Linked DNA regions of Homo sapiens: all the other regions are linked to region 1. Evidence: promoter capture Hi-C in 16 types of primary human blood cells and fetal thymus (Javierre and others, 2016). All regions are on one chromosome and are shown on one strand. Each heading gives the region's core, a stretch centred on a gene start or on the middle of the fragment in contact. The rest is flanking DNA. Distances are from core to core; before and after follow the strand shown. Region 1 holds the start of FBXO5 (F-box protein 5). Region 2 overlaps SHPRH (SNF2 histone linker PHD RING helicase). Region 3 overlaps STXBP5-AS1 (STXBP5 antisense RNA 1).

The links. Contacts are between HindIII fragments. The CHiCAGO score rates a contact against its expected background, and 5 or more counts as called.
Region 2: a contact is called between a fragment that was not itself captured here and the fragment with the promoter of FBXO5 in region 1, in 1 of 17 cell types (total B cells). The highest score is 11.3, in total B cells.
Region 3: a contact is called between a fragment that was not itself captured here and the fragment with the promoter of FBXO5 in region 1, in 1 of 17 cell types (total B cells). The highest score is 10.8, in total B cells.

The regions. Positions count from the first base shown.
Region 1 is chr6:152,981,165-152,985,782 of GRCh38, forward strand. It overlaps FBXO5 (F-box protein 5), which reads right to left and starts at 1,877. Exons shown (of 5, transcript NM_012177.5): 1 at 1,693-1,877. The coding sequence starts at 1,795. RefSeq lists silencers at 1,311-1,380, 1,861-2,180 and enhancers at 2,211-2,430, 2,721-2,840, 3,371-3,470. The HindIII fragment of the contact is 9,521 bases long and covers 783-4,618 here.
Region 2 is chr6:145,954,698-145,959,315 of GRCh38, forward strand. It overlaps SHPRH (SNF2 histone linker PHD RING helicase), which reads right to left. Exons shown (of 30, transcript NM_001042683.3): 2 at 1-657. The coding sequence starts at 625. Among named protein-coding and RNA genes, the nearest start is that of SHPRH, 7.4 kb to the right of the region's middle. The HindIII fragment of the contact is 1,103 bases long and covers 1,375-2,477 here.
Region 3 is chr6:147,197,022-147,201,639 of GRCh38, forward strand. All of the region lies in intron 1 of STXBP5-AS1 (STXBP5 antisense RNA 1), which reads right to left. Among named protein-coding and RNA genes, the nearest start is that of STXBP5, 5.1 kb to the right of the region's middle. The HindIII fragment of the contact is 2,176 bases long and covers 1,359-3,534 here.

The DNA.
Region 1 (4,618 bases), core at 627-3,126:
ATTCCTATTTTTCCCCCAAGTGCAGACACTAATAAGACTCATACATGGCATTGTTTAAACTTCTCATTTACCAACTCCCAGCCCAGTCATATAGAGAAAAGTAAATTTTACAATGTTTGATCTTACATTTAACTTTTCAATATAGACCTGATCCTCCATATCAAATATCATAAATAAGGCTGCAGTCCTTAAAAATCTTTGTAACTCTTCTGTTAAATAATTAAGTTCCAGTCTCTAATACCTACAGATAACGACCATGTGGTCAACGTTAGGCATGGCTATTCCTTAAGAATTTAAGAGGCCCAATGCTTGTGACCATAAAGTAATCTTTAAGAGAAAATTTTACAAAAGCCTCCTTTGAAAACTACTTGGAAGTAACATATATGTATTTTTAATTTCATCTCCTCAAACCTGTAAACTGGGGAAAAAATTCCAACAGGCAGTCATTTCTTTCTGAGGAGCAAGGTAGTAAAGACAATTAGAGTTATCAAAAAAGAAAAAAAAAAAACCCTCATAAGGCCATCAAGCTTCAGAATTTCGATGGTAGACTGACGATCCAGGATCTTCTAGAAATATATTTAATCTATTAAAATTAAAATTAAGTATTTTTTTCTAGAGTTCTTTTTTAATAATAGAGTCATTACAAAATAGTACAATGCCGAATTGCTAAATTTTTTCATTTTGGGTTATTTCTCAGGTAAAAATAAGTGCATATAGATTTTATTTAGAGGTAGCAACAAAGAGGATAAAAATAAGCATTTGAGTGCATTCCATTCTCTGCAAGCTTTGAAATAAAGGACTATCTAATTCTTCATGAGTTATCGGGAAAAAGTCACCAATTCTTCGATTCTTACAAAATCATCTTAATACTATGGACAAATTCAAGGTTCGTAGTAAAAATTGCTTTTTTTAAAGTCTTCCCTTTCCACTCCAGGCCCTGAGACTGGGTTAACGGGCAAAGGGAGAAAAAATTGGGAAAAAGTAACGTTTTTGTTTGGATGTCCCAGTTGAGTTTGGTCCAATGAGTTGGGGGGGTGTCTCTCCATTTGGCGGGAGTGGGGAGGGAGACCCTGGAACTCCTGAGGGATCGGTGGGGCTGCCCCTCAGGGCGCGGGACACGCGGAGGAGGCGGGAGATAACCGCGAGCGCGATCTCCCGCGCCCGCCAGCAAGGCTGGGACCGCGAAAAATCGGGGAAACTGCCTTTGGCTGTGAGGGTGCGGGGCAGATGTAGAAAAGGGGCGCAGGGGGAGAAGGTGAGGCACCTGGCCAGGCCCTGGGGGCTTCTCGCTCGCAGCCCTGTCACCGCCGGGGGCCCCGGGGTGGGGGAGGGGAGGGGCATTTGGCGCCTATTCAAGCAGGGTGGGGTAGGTGGGTCTTCCGAGGAGGAAAAAGGGCGCCCTGGGATGCCACGACCCGCACCTCCCGGGGCTGGAGTCCACGGTCGGCGTGGGTGGCGGGACCCCGCGGCCCGCCATCCCGCCCCTGCACATCTGGCTCTTCTGGCTTCCCCCCGACACCCAGCCGCCCTCCTCCCGGACCCAGGAACCGCTGCCGCCGCCCGAGGCCGGGCGTGTGGCATGGCCGCGCGTCCAGGCTCCGAGGGACGTCGGGTCAGGGTCTCAGGCTGCGACCCTCCCCGTGCACCCCTCCTGGCGTGCGCGCCCCCCTCGCGACCGCTCCCCTCACTCACTATCCGAGGGTCGAGGGCGCCCGGCGGCTGTCACTGCGCTGGGGCTGGCGCTGCAGGAGCAGCGGGGTGGCCGTAGGGCGCAGCTGCAGGGGCGCCGGCTCATGCCAGCCGACGTGGAGTCTGCCTCAGGTGGAGGAACCGCTCCGGGGGCAGCTGAGCAACCTGCCTGCTTCACAGACCTGTATCTCTTAAAAGGCGCCAGCTGGTACTTTTAAAATCTTTGAATTTGGTGCCTAAATCCGCGCGGTCCAATGAGACGCGTCGCTTGCATGCGCGCACCAATAGGAGGGCAGTGGGTGGGGGCGCCCTCGTCCGCGCCCAATTGGAGGCTGCCGAGGCGGGGCCGAGCCGCGAAGCCCAGCCCCCTTCCAGCTTACCGGCTCCCCACGTCCGGAAAGATGCTACGGCCGGGGGCGGGACCTCCGAGCACGGGGAGGCCGCGGCCCGGCCACACGTGTGGAGGGTCTATCACGCATGCGTGCGCCCGCCAAGATTCCTTCCGCCGTCTTCTGGACCGGCCTCCTGCAAGTCCTAATCTCAGCCCAAATTCAGCGCTGGCTTCCATCTGGAGATCTTTGATGGGTACAAATGGTAGCCGACTTTCTTCGATCATCTCTCGAACGGGAGTTCGGTGAGCAGCAACTCGGCTCGTCCGGGAATCCAGACTTTCCGGAAGACGGACCCTCCCCCCAGTCCAGCTTAGCCCGCCTCTCTAGGATTTACGCGCGCGCTCTGCTCTCCCTCCTAACTCGACCCTCCCCTTGACCCACGCCTCTGCGCAGGCGCCTTGGCGGGCTGTGGCTGCGGAGTTGGCGGGTCGGCGCCTGCGCACTGGAGTCCCCCGCGATTTTTTCCTCCGGGGTGGGCGAGGAGGCTGTGCGGCCTTCCCCAGCGGCTGTAGCAGGAGACCTGCGGCTGCATCTCCCAGGGCCTTCCGGCGGGGCCGAGGGTAGGACCGAGGCACTTCTTCCTTGCAAGCGCGTTTATTTGTATTTTCAACCACACTTCAGACGCTACTGGTTTATAGGAACGTTAAGTTTACTGAGTGTGCAGCTACGCTCCCCTGGGTTTTTGTTCCTTTCCTTAAAGGGCCAGGTGTAGGAGACAGTAGTCCTGCTCCCAAAAAAAGAATAAATAGAAGTGCCCGCCCTCTTGGGCTGGACCCCCGTGGCCAAGGGAGTTTTTAGTGATGGCTGGCATGGACGTCAGTATGAAAGTGTACCGGAGTATTAGTGATGCTTAACTTTTCACAATTTGAATATGCACTTAAGTAGGGCAGTGCATTCCCTGAACTCAGCTTTATGGCTACAGCCCAGTGAAGCAACGGGATGTGAACTCCAAAACGGCGAATCCTCCTTTGCTGTTTCCCTCTGGTGCCTTTCTGCAGCCTCGGAGTGAGTTCTTGGCTGTAGTCAGTTTTCAGTACCGTTAGTGACGAGTCCGGTGGGGCGCGGCCAGGATTAGGATGAATCATACAAGTGCTGGGTGGATCCTGTCTTTACCTAAAATTTTGATAATTAGTTGTGGGGCGCGGCCAGGATTAGGATGAATCATACAAGTGCTGGGTGGATCCTGTCTTTACCTAAAATTTTGATAATTAGTTCATCATGGGTTTTTTGCCTTTTTCATTTTTAAAAATGTTAAAATAGTGTCACTCTTGATGACTTAAATTTTTTTCATCCCCGTAAACGCACCTGAGGCCTGTGCTTCCTTGCCTCACCCTAACCTGGCCCTGGGGCTAGATCCTGGAGATTCAGGGTTGAAAAGACAAAGTCCTGTCCTTTAGGGAGTTTACAGAGACCAATGGGAAAGAAGTTGACAGTGAACAATTTCAGAACACGAAAGAGGATATGAAAGAATGTAATCGGGGGTAGAGAATGCAGATTAGTATAGGTTAAGGATTTTGGATGGTCAGGACGCTTTCTGAGGCTTTGAACCCAGATGCGTTGAACTGGCAATGCAGGGCTGCATAATAAGCAGAGGGAATAATAAGCAGAGGGAATGCCTGACTACGACTTAGTGAACAAGAGAGAGAGGAGATGAGGTTAGAGAGGTAGGCAGAAGCCAGATCCTGTGGGACCTTGTAGTTTTTCCATGCAGAGTTTAGACTTTCTTCTGATTGCAGTGGTTAGCTGTTGGAAGGATTTTGGCAAGGTAGTTATTTGTTGATAGAATATTGAAATTATAATAGCTTTTTTATGTAAAAAAAAGAATGTAAATGTTAGCCTTTCATTCTCACAATAGGTTAGCATTATTTTCAGTGTACAATGGTCGTGCTTCTCAGTGTGAGTTAATTCTCACTGTGGCTACCAAAACCACACAGCTAGTAAGCGGAGATTCGAGTGCCCGTCTGCAGGATTCAAAAAGTCCATGTCCTTTCCTCTTATGCTATGCTAGCCTATAACACTATCTGCTGGAGTCCTGGTTGGTTTTAGTACATTTCACATTACTTCACAGTTTGACCTTAGAGATAATTGTATTCACCTCTTCTATTTTCAGATGCTGGCATAAATACAAAATTCGAAGCAGGCAAGGTTTCTCATTACATTAGTTTTTATTTGTATTTTTTTGAGACTGAGTCTCGCTCTGTAGCCCAGGCTGGAGTGCAGTGGCGCGATCTTGGCCCGCTGCAGTCCCTGCCTCCTGGTTCAAGCGGTTCTCCTGCCTCAGCCTCCCAAGTAGCTGGGATTATAGGCATGCGCCACCACGCCTGGCTAATTTTTATATTTTTAGTAGAGACGGGGTTTCACCTTTTTGTCCAGGCTGGTCTTGAACTCCTGATCTCAACTGATCCATCCACCTCGGCCTCCCAAAGTGCTGGGTGGCATGAGCCACCGAGCCTGGCTCATTAAATTAGCTGAGCATCTGGAATATAACCTTTGGATCTTATCCTCAGCTTAGATTTGTTCTTCAGCAGTTTTTTTAT
Region 2 (4,618 bases), core at 676-3,175, 7.0 Mb before region 1:
TGTGATTTCCTTCTGGTTTCTGATAGAGTTTTATTCTTCTCTTCTTTTGTAGCCACCCCAAATCTTCTAACATTTCACCACTGAAGGATGACTCCACCAGAATACCCTTGTCACAAATACTCATCGGTTCTTTTTTTTGTTTCTCTACATCTTCACCTTTTGAATGAACATAAATCAGGAACTGATTGCTTGACTCTGAACTCATCAATGTAATACTCCTTTCGGAAAAATTTTCAATTAAACTCTGTGCAGGAAGAAGCTGAAGAGTTAATTCTCCTAGAAATGCTTTCCAGGAATTATCAAAATGATAGGGAGAAATCACAATATTTAACTTTACAGACAAAGGGGAAAAAATACCAACAGTCTCTTCTTTTTCAATTGGTTTTGAGAAGCTCACCACTTTTGAACACCTCTTCTTATCTCTGTGAGCCACTTCTTCCTTTAGACTATCACTTAGAATGATATAATGAGCAGAAGAGGTATCTGAACCTGGGCAGGGCTGCTCGTCATCATCACTTATGATGATAGGTTCATTCCTTCTGTCCTCATGCATATTCCAATGAAGCTGCTGCCTCTTTTCCTCATCTACCCTCACTGGAGGAGCACGTTTCCGTCGGCTGCTCATTTTCAAGTTTTCTTGGCTGGTAACTGTGAACTCTAGAGGACAAATGAAACAACAGGAGGTATAACAAGAGATGATTTAGTATTTAAGGGTTACCAGATGAGAAATTCAGCATAAATTCATAGCCCATAAACATAATATGAAATCTTCTGTGAGATATAAGGCAATGAGTAATTTTTTTACCAGGTCATTATGACTAAGGAATGAACATATTAACCATAATCTCATTTATCAAATAAATTCTAATGGTTTTGCTAGTCTTTAATAGTAAAGGCAATTTGTTGTATAAAATAAAATAAATTGTAGAAATACATTTAATAAGCAATATAATAGGAAGGTAAATCTCTCAATCCCAAGTAATTTAACTGCCCCTCAGAACAAAGCCCAACAATACTTAAAAGAGCGAAACAAAATCCAACACAAATGTCTGGCATCAAATCTAAAATTATCAGGCACGCAAAAAAAATGAAAATAAAACAGAAAAATAAGACCCATTACAAGAAAAAAATCAAAAAGCCCCAGAAAAGACACAGATGATATAATTAGCAGAAACAAACATTCAAACAGCTACTGTAAATATTCTCAATATGTTAAAGGTAGAGGAAAACATGAATATGACAAAGAAAAATGATAGATATACAAGTGACTCCTATAGAATTTATGCAGATGGAAATGCAACATCTAAAACGAAAAACACATTGTATGAGATTACCAGCAGATTAGAAATGGCAAAGAAAAAAAGAAGCAGAATAAGCTTAAACAATGGAAACAACAGTAACAACAGAAACTGTCAAAAATGAAGTAGAGATAAACAAAGACTGAAAAAACAATAAATAGAACATCAGAAACCTACTAGACAATGTTAAGGAGTCAAACATGCATAAAACTGGAATCTCAGCAGCAAAGAATGGAAAGGATACAAAAAACTTTTTGAAAAAATCATGCATGAAAATTTTCCAACTTCTATAAAAACCATCAACTCAGAAAACCAAGAAGCTCAATGAAACCCAATCAGGGCAAACATAAAGAACAATCACAATAAGGTATGCCATAATTAAATTACTGAAAAGTGAGGACTTCTCTCCAGATTGGCCCTATTTCTCTGGTTTAGACACTGCTCCCACCCCACAGCTCTAAACCCAGCAAAATATCTTTCAAAAATGAAGGTGAAAAAAAGATCAACAAAAGCCAAAAGGACTTATCACCTGTATACCTACAATCTAAGTAATGTAAGAAGCGCTTGGGTAGAAGAAATATGACATCAGATGGAAATCTGGATCCACACACAAGGAAATAAAAAGCAAAAACAAAAAATATGTGTATAAATATAGTAAACTTTTTTCTTGATTTTTAAATTTCTGTAAAAGATAACTTACTATACTTTCATTCTGAAAATTTTCAAGCATACATAAAAATTTAGAAAATAGTATAACAGTATAATCAGAGATCTATACAGTGTACTATGTTCATGGACTAGAAGACTCAAAATGTTCAGATGTCAATTTCTTAGTACTGACCTATAGAAAAGCAATCCCATTCAAAATTCCAACAGGTTTGTTCTGTAGAAACTGACAACCTGATGTTAAAATTTATACTAAAATGCCTACAATACAGGAAAGTCAATATAATTTTAGAAAAGAAAAATAAAGTTGAATGACTTACACTGATTCCAAGACATATGTCAAAAGAAATAAAAATGGTGCAGTAGTGGTGTAAAGACCAACATATAGATCAAGGGAAATGTCCTGTAGTGGACCCACACATGGATGGTCAATTGATTTTTGAAAGAAGTTCAGAGGCAGTCAATGGGAAAGGTATCCTTTTAGTAAATGGATACCAATATGCAATGAAATGAAGCTTTACCTCCTAAAATGTAAGAATTAACTAAAAATAGATAATAAACTATAAAAGCTAAAACTAAAACTTCTCAAAGAAAACAGAGGAGAAAACCTAAATGACATTGGATTAGCCCAAAAAAAAGGCACAAAAATTTTTAAGCAGGAAACAAAAACCATAGACTATGTAAGAATATGATAAACTAAGTTTCATCAAAATTAAATATTTTGGTTCTTCAAAAGATACTGTCATCAAAATATGACAGCAAGTCACAGATGGGAGAAAATATTAGCAAATCAAGTATCTGATGAAGGATATGTTTGCAGAATATATAAAGAACTCTCACAAATTAATAGTAAGACAAACATTTAAAAAAGTCAAAAATTTTGAATAGACATTTCACCAAAGATGACCTATAAGTGTAAAATAAGCATATGAAAATATTTTCACCAGCATCAGTCATTAAAGCAATACAAATTCAACCCACAAATCACAATGAGATGCCACTATTCATATACTAAAATAGTCAAAAATTTAAAACACTGAGAGTATGGCTCAAACAGAACTGAACTCTCCAACATTTGAACACAGCACAGTCACTTTGGAAAAGTATCAGTTTCTAATAAAATTGAATATAACTTACTATGCAGCCTAGTAATCCCTCTCTTAGGTATTTATCCAAGAGAAATCAAAACATAAATCCACAAAAATTTAAACTTGAATGTTAACAGCTTTACTATTAAAAGCCCCAAACTGGAAGAAAACCCAAATGTCCATCAACTGGTGAATGGACAAATTGTGGCATAGTCACACAATGGAATACTATTCTGTGATAAAAAGAGACTTCTGTAAAATAACCTGAATGAACTGTTAAAGCATTATGCTAAACTGAAGAAAGCTAGATGTGAAAGACTATATACTATATGATTCCATTTACATGAAATTCTAGAAATGGCAAAAACCTGATTGCAGAAAGTAGATGAGTGGTTACCAGGGGCAAGGAAGTATAAAGAGGTGACTGACAGTAAAGGAGCAGGAAGGCAGGCTTTGGGGTGACATAAATGTTCAACACATGATTGCAGAGTATACATCTGTCAAAACTCATCAAATTATATACTTTAAATTGAATTTTCTTATACATAAATTATATCATAAAGTTGATTTAAAGAGCAAAAACAAAAAGATGCACGAGATTTAGAAATTTTAATATTAAGTATAACTTTATTCAATAAATCTGAAAAATCTAGATAAAATGATAAATTATAAAGTGATAAAATTTTGCTAACAAAATACAAATGAACAAAACTGGCCCAAGAAGGAAAATATGAATAGACCAATAACCATAAAAGAAACTAAAGTGACATTATTTACCTGCCTAAGGTCTATCCTCCTTCCCTGATGACTGAACCTTTATTTAGGAACAAGGTGGCCCTATGATTCAAAGGAAGTGATTTCCTTGGCACCTCCAAGGAAGTAGTTTCTAGCTACTATTGGCCAAAGCAAATCCAATAAGGTAGTTATTGGCTGCATGTGACTACTTAACTTTCAATACAGTTATGCATTGTATAATGACATTTTGGTCAATGAGGGACCAAATATTACAGTGGTTCCATAAGGGAGCTGAAAAATTCCTATGGACTAGTGACATCATAGCCATTGTAACATCATAATGCATTTATTTATTTATTTATTTATTGAGATAGAGACTCACTCTGTTGCCCAGCTGGAGTGCAGTGGCGTGATCTCTGCTCACTGCAAGCTCCACCTCCTGGGTTCATGCCATTCTCCTGCCTCAGCCTCCTGAGTAGCTGGGACTACAGGCGCCTGCCACTATGCCCAGCTAACTTTTTTTTTGTATTTTTAGTAGAGACGGGGTTTCATGTGTTAGCCAGGATGGTTTTGAACTCCTGAACTCAAGATCTGCATGCCTCAGCCTCCCAAAGTGCTGGGACTACAGGCGTGAGCCACCGCGCCTAGCCGCATTACTTTATTTTTTAATAAACTTTGTGTAGCATAAGTGTACAGTGTTTACAAAGTCTACAGAAGTGTACAGTAATGTCCCAGGCCTTCACATTCACTCCCTGACTAACCCAGAGCAACCTTCAGTGTTATAAGCTGCATTCATGCTAAGTACCCCACAAAGGTGTACTATTTTTTATC
Region 3 (4,618 bases), core at 1,197-3,696, 5.8 Mb before region 1:
CCAGGTAATTTAATGGAGATTTTGCATTTAAAAAATTGCATTCCTAAAGGAACTTAGTTTGTGCCATTGGTCATAGAATCAGGAACAGTGTGATGGCTACTAAAGGTGGAATTGGGACTAGGGAAGTGTGAAAATAGAATAATAGAATGCCATAAAAAAAGAGCAGCTGATGCGGAAGCCTAAAGGTAGTTAGGAGGCCAGAAATTTACCCCAAAGTGGAAGCTGTTTGACCCGGGCTGGGGGAAGCAGGTACTCCAGTTTTAGGTCTGCAGGTACATTATCTTTGGACCAAGTGTGTAGTGTTTCCTACAAACACATTTTAAAAAATCCATTCTGAGTTTAAAGCTAGATACCTAGTCCTGCTTGGAGGAACTCCATCCCATGGATACAGACTGTGCTTTCCTACCTTCTGCAAAAAACTTCTAAGAGTTAATTAGCATCCTTTGCATGTTTTCATTGTTAGTATTAATATGATTCTCTTGGCTCTGATGGGTCTTTAGAGAAAGTGTTCCCACCCTCCTTATGTTAAGGTTTTTGTTTTGGTCCTTTTTGATTTCTTATGTGGTAATCTTTAGGGTTGACCAGAAAGAAAAGAGTTTGCATCTAAATGTTCCACAGTTCAGTGACTAAGAGGGGTGACACAGCCCCAGAGCCTACGATGGCAGGCACTGTTACATCGGTCTCAATTAACACTGTCTCACTGGGCTGCCCTGTCAGGCAACTCTCTCTGAGGGGAAAAAGCAGACAGTTTTCTATTAGTATGTTGGTGTTTAGTTACTGACCTATTTTTCAGATGAAGAGTACTACTTTGCGTGCTGCATAGTTTTTAATTAAAAAAAAAAAGATGGCCAGGCGCTGTGGCTCATGCCTGTAATCCTAACACCTTGGGAGACCAAGCTGGGAGGATCGCTTGAGGTCAGGAGTTCAAGAGCAGCCTGGCCAATATGGTGAAACCCCATCTCTACTAAAAATACAAAAATTAGCCGGGCATGGTGGCGGGTGCCTGTAATCCCAGCTTCTCAGGAGGCTGAGACAGGAGAATCGCTTGAACCAGGGAGGCGGAGGTTGCAATGAGCTGAGATCGGGACACTGCACTCCAGCCTGGGCGACAGCCCTCAGAATCACACTTGGTGTGCTTGGCCTGCCCTTTGAGAATACTTTTTAGAAGTAATATGATATACGATTAGTCGCTGTCTATATATAAATATATATATAGGTGCGAATCCAGGGGTGGAATGCGGGATGCAGTGGAAGGAGGCAGTGAAGGTGAGGAAGGAACAAAATATTAACTTACACTGCTGTTTCAAGCTTATTTCATTACCACAGTATATTAGCTGTGAGTAATTCCATAAGGAACAAGCTTTATTGCTTGCTCTTTAGTCCACAAATCAAATTTTAATGAGTTATTTGAAAAGAAAAGCAAACCCTTTGGGAAAAGTTTAGCAAAATGTTCAATGTATTTACAATAATATTCAAATCCTAAAATATTAAAATTAAGACTAGTGGGAGCATTATTTCTTACCTCAGATACTCTTCCCATTTTAGAAATACCATTCCCATTGTAGAAACAGCACTTGAAATATATGAAGATGTATCAAGCAATTTCTGATTGCCTGATCAGGGTCTAGGTTTTTAGAATTTGACGTTATTTTTCACTCATATTATATATTAATGCCTACTAATTTACATTTAACTGTACATTTGGTTCTATTAGTTTTGTTTTGCACTTCTGGAATTTTCTCTTCACTCGGACTTTCTGACCCTTGTCTAGACATTTTCGTCTATAGTTTAATTACACCCTTACAAATAATATTAAATATTAAATTACAGAGGTAATCTCTGCAATAGTCAAGGCTCACTAACATCTGCCTGATCTGTTTTTGTAGAAAGGCCAGAGCTTATAAAATATCACAATGGGCCGGGCGTGGTGGCTCACACCTGTAATCCCAGCACTTTGGGAGGCCAAGGTGGGCAGATCACTTGAGGTCAGGAGTTCAAGACCAGCCTGGCCAACACGGTGAAACCCCGTCTCTACTAAAAATACAAAGATTAGCCAGGTGTGGTGGCGCATGCCTGTAGTCCCAGCTACTTGGGAGGCTGAGTCATGAGAATCACTTGCACTTGGGAGGCGGAGGTTGCAGTGAGCCAAGATCACGCCACTGCACTCCATCCTGGGTGACAGAGTGAGACTTGGCATCAAAAAAATAAAAAAAGTTCAAGACCAGCCTGACCAACATGGAGAAACCCCCTCTTTACCATAAATCCAAAAAAATTAGCCAGGCATGGTGGTGCATGCCTGGAATCCCAGCTACTTGGGAGGCTGAGTCAGGAGAATTGCTTGAACCCAGGAGGCGGAGGTTGGGGTGAGCTGAGATCATGCCATTGCACTCCAGCCTGGGCAACAAGAGTGAAACTCCATCTTAAAAAAATAAAAATCATAATATAGTGGATTGCTAGTTCCCAGATGAGTCTTGTGCATTTAGCTAATGATATTTGTTGAGTCCACTGAGGAACAAATGGTAACCAGAAATTAGTCAGGAGTCACAATTGTGGAAATGAAATTGTAGTACCACACTTTGAAGTGCTCAGGCCAAAACTCGAGGCATCATATTTACCTCTCCTGTCTCTGATACCCCCATACCATCAGCAAATCCGTTTGGCTCTACCATTAAAATATAACCCCGAATCTAACCCCCTGTGCACTACAATCACTTTTAACCATTCTGGTCCAAGCCACCAACCCCTTGCTGGATTATTGCAGCCATCTCTTCACTGTAGGAAGAACTGACAGTAGAAGGTAAAAATGGTGAGTGACAGATGGCTGCAATGATCTCTACTTTCTTTTACAATTAGATGCAAGTTGTATCTAAACTGCTATCAGAATATTTGATTGCAAAAACCAGAAATATAACCAAACTACTTAACGCAAAGAAGGAAAGAATGTCTCAAGTTTCCATAAAGCATAAGATTCGGGAACCAGAAAGTCAGAAATCAAGATTCTACTCTCGACCTCCTTGGGTCACTGGTGGTCATTCTCTGTCATCTCTGTGTCTGCTCCATCCTCCCGAGTTCTGTCTAAGAATGGGTACACTCAGCTGTGGTGTGTAGGAAATAAAACACACTACCTAGCCCTAGGACAACATGGCTTCCTCCTCATTCAGATTAATTTGTAATTTTGTAATCCAGTTCCAAATTCCCAGAAGATTATCTCTTGGCTTGCCTTATTTCTGGTTTCAGTCTCAGATCCTAGTGGTTTGGACCAGGAAACAAGGGGACCTGATTAAAATAGAGTTGCCCAGGCCCGTCATTTAGCAGGGGCTAGGGAACTCATTCAGAAAAGGTGGCTTGAACTAGACAAACCAACTAATTAACATCTGTGCTGCAATTTCCAAATAATTTAAATTCAATAGTCTATTAAACTATGTAGTGAATTAATTATTGTCATGCACACAGCCTTCAGGACTCAATAAACTGAAACTAAGTCAATAAAAATGAATGCTAGCAAGTGAGGTAGATTTGTTCTACTTTCCAGAAAGCTTTTGCCATTAAATAATTTCTCATTAAAATGTTTATTTTCAGTTTCTGCCTTCTCCATCTCAATCAGCATCCAGCTTACCTTTGCGATCTGTACCAGGTCCTGCATTAGTCTGGTAACCTTTAAACTGGATAATGAGGACTGATAGATTCAGAAATGTTATGAATTCTTGGTCTTTAGTCTTCTGCACCTGTCAATTTCATATGCTAACATTCTTTTAGTGTATGTGTAGTTTCGTTTTCTTAAAAAGTTGTCTTATTATTTTCATTGTGTTGGCAGAATATTTTTTAGTGCCACCTTGACTCAGCTAAATGTAAGATATATATTTATAATTTGTCAGTAGTATACTATTACATCATCACCTTATGGTCCATTCTTCAAACAGGTAAGAAATAATTTCATTCAGGAGAATGTCACCTAAAGGCAGAAGCTATTGAATTGCTTGAAATCAACATACTTACTCATTCATTCAAATAAAACAAATAAACACAACTTTTCTGAGAAATTATGATGGGTAAAATTCTCTGTTTTGTGCTCAATTTAAAAATGAATAATATAGATTATTTAGTTTAATGTATTTAATTCTAAACTTAAAATGTTTAATTCCAAATAAAATTCTCAAAATTTCAGTTCTAATTTGAAAAAACAAATTGATTAATTCTAACTGACTTATAAGAATTACTGTGAGTTTGAGGATCGATTATTTTACCTTTGCTATAATAAAGGTCGTTATTTTGGGCCATTGTTGGTTTTGGCCATTTGGATTTTCGGATAAGTCCCCGTGTCTCTGAGCACAGAGGATGGACTGCAAGTTCACAAAGGTAGGCTATATCCATCTTAAATTCCAGGTATTCACTAAGAACTGAAATTTTGAGAATGTCAGAATGAGTTCATAACCTGATGGAAAAGATAGAGTATAGAAATAAAAACAAACATTCTAGAGTCAGAAGTAGGAAACTGGCTTAAATTGGTGACTCTTTGAAGTCCCCTTTACCTCAAGGACCCTGATAGAATAGGAAACTGACATTTTTGAGTGTCTACAGAGTACTAAGCAATGCAGTACAAACTTTTCATATTCTTTCT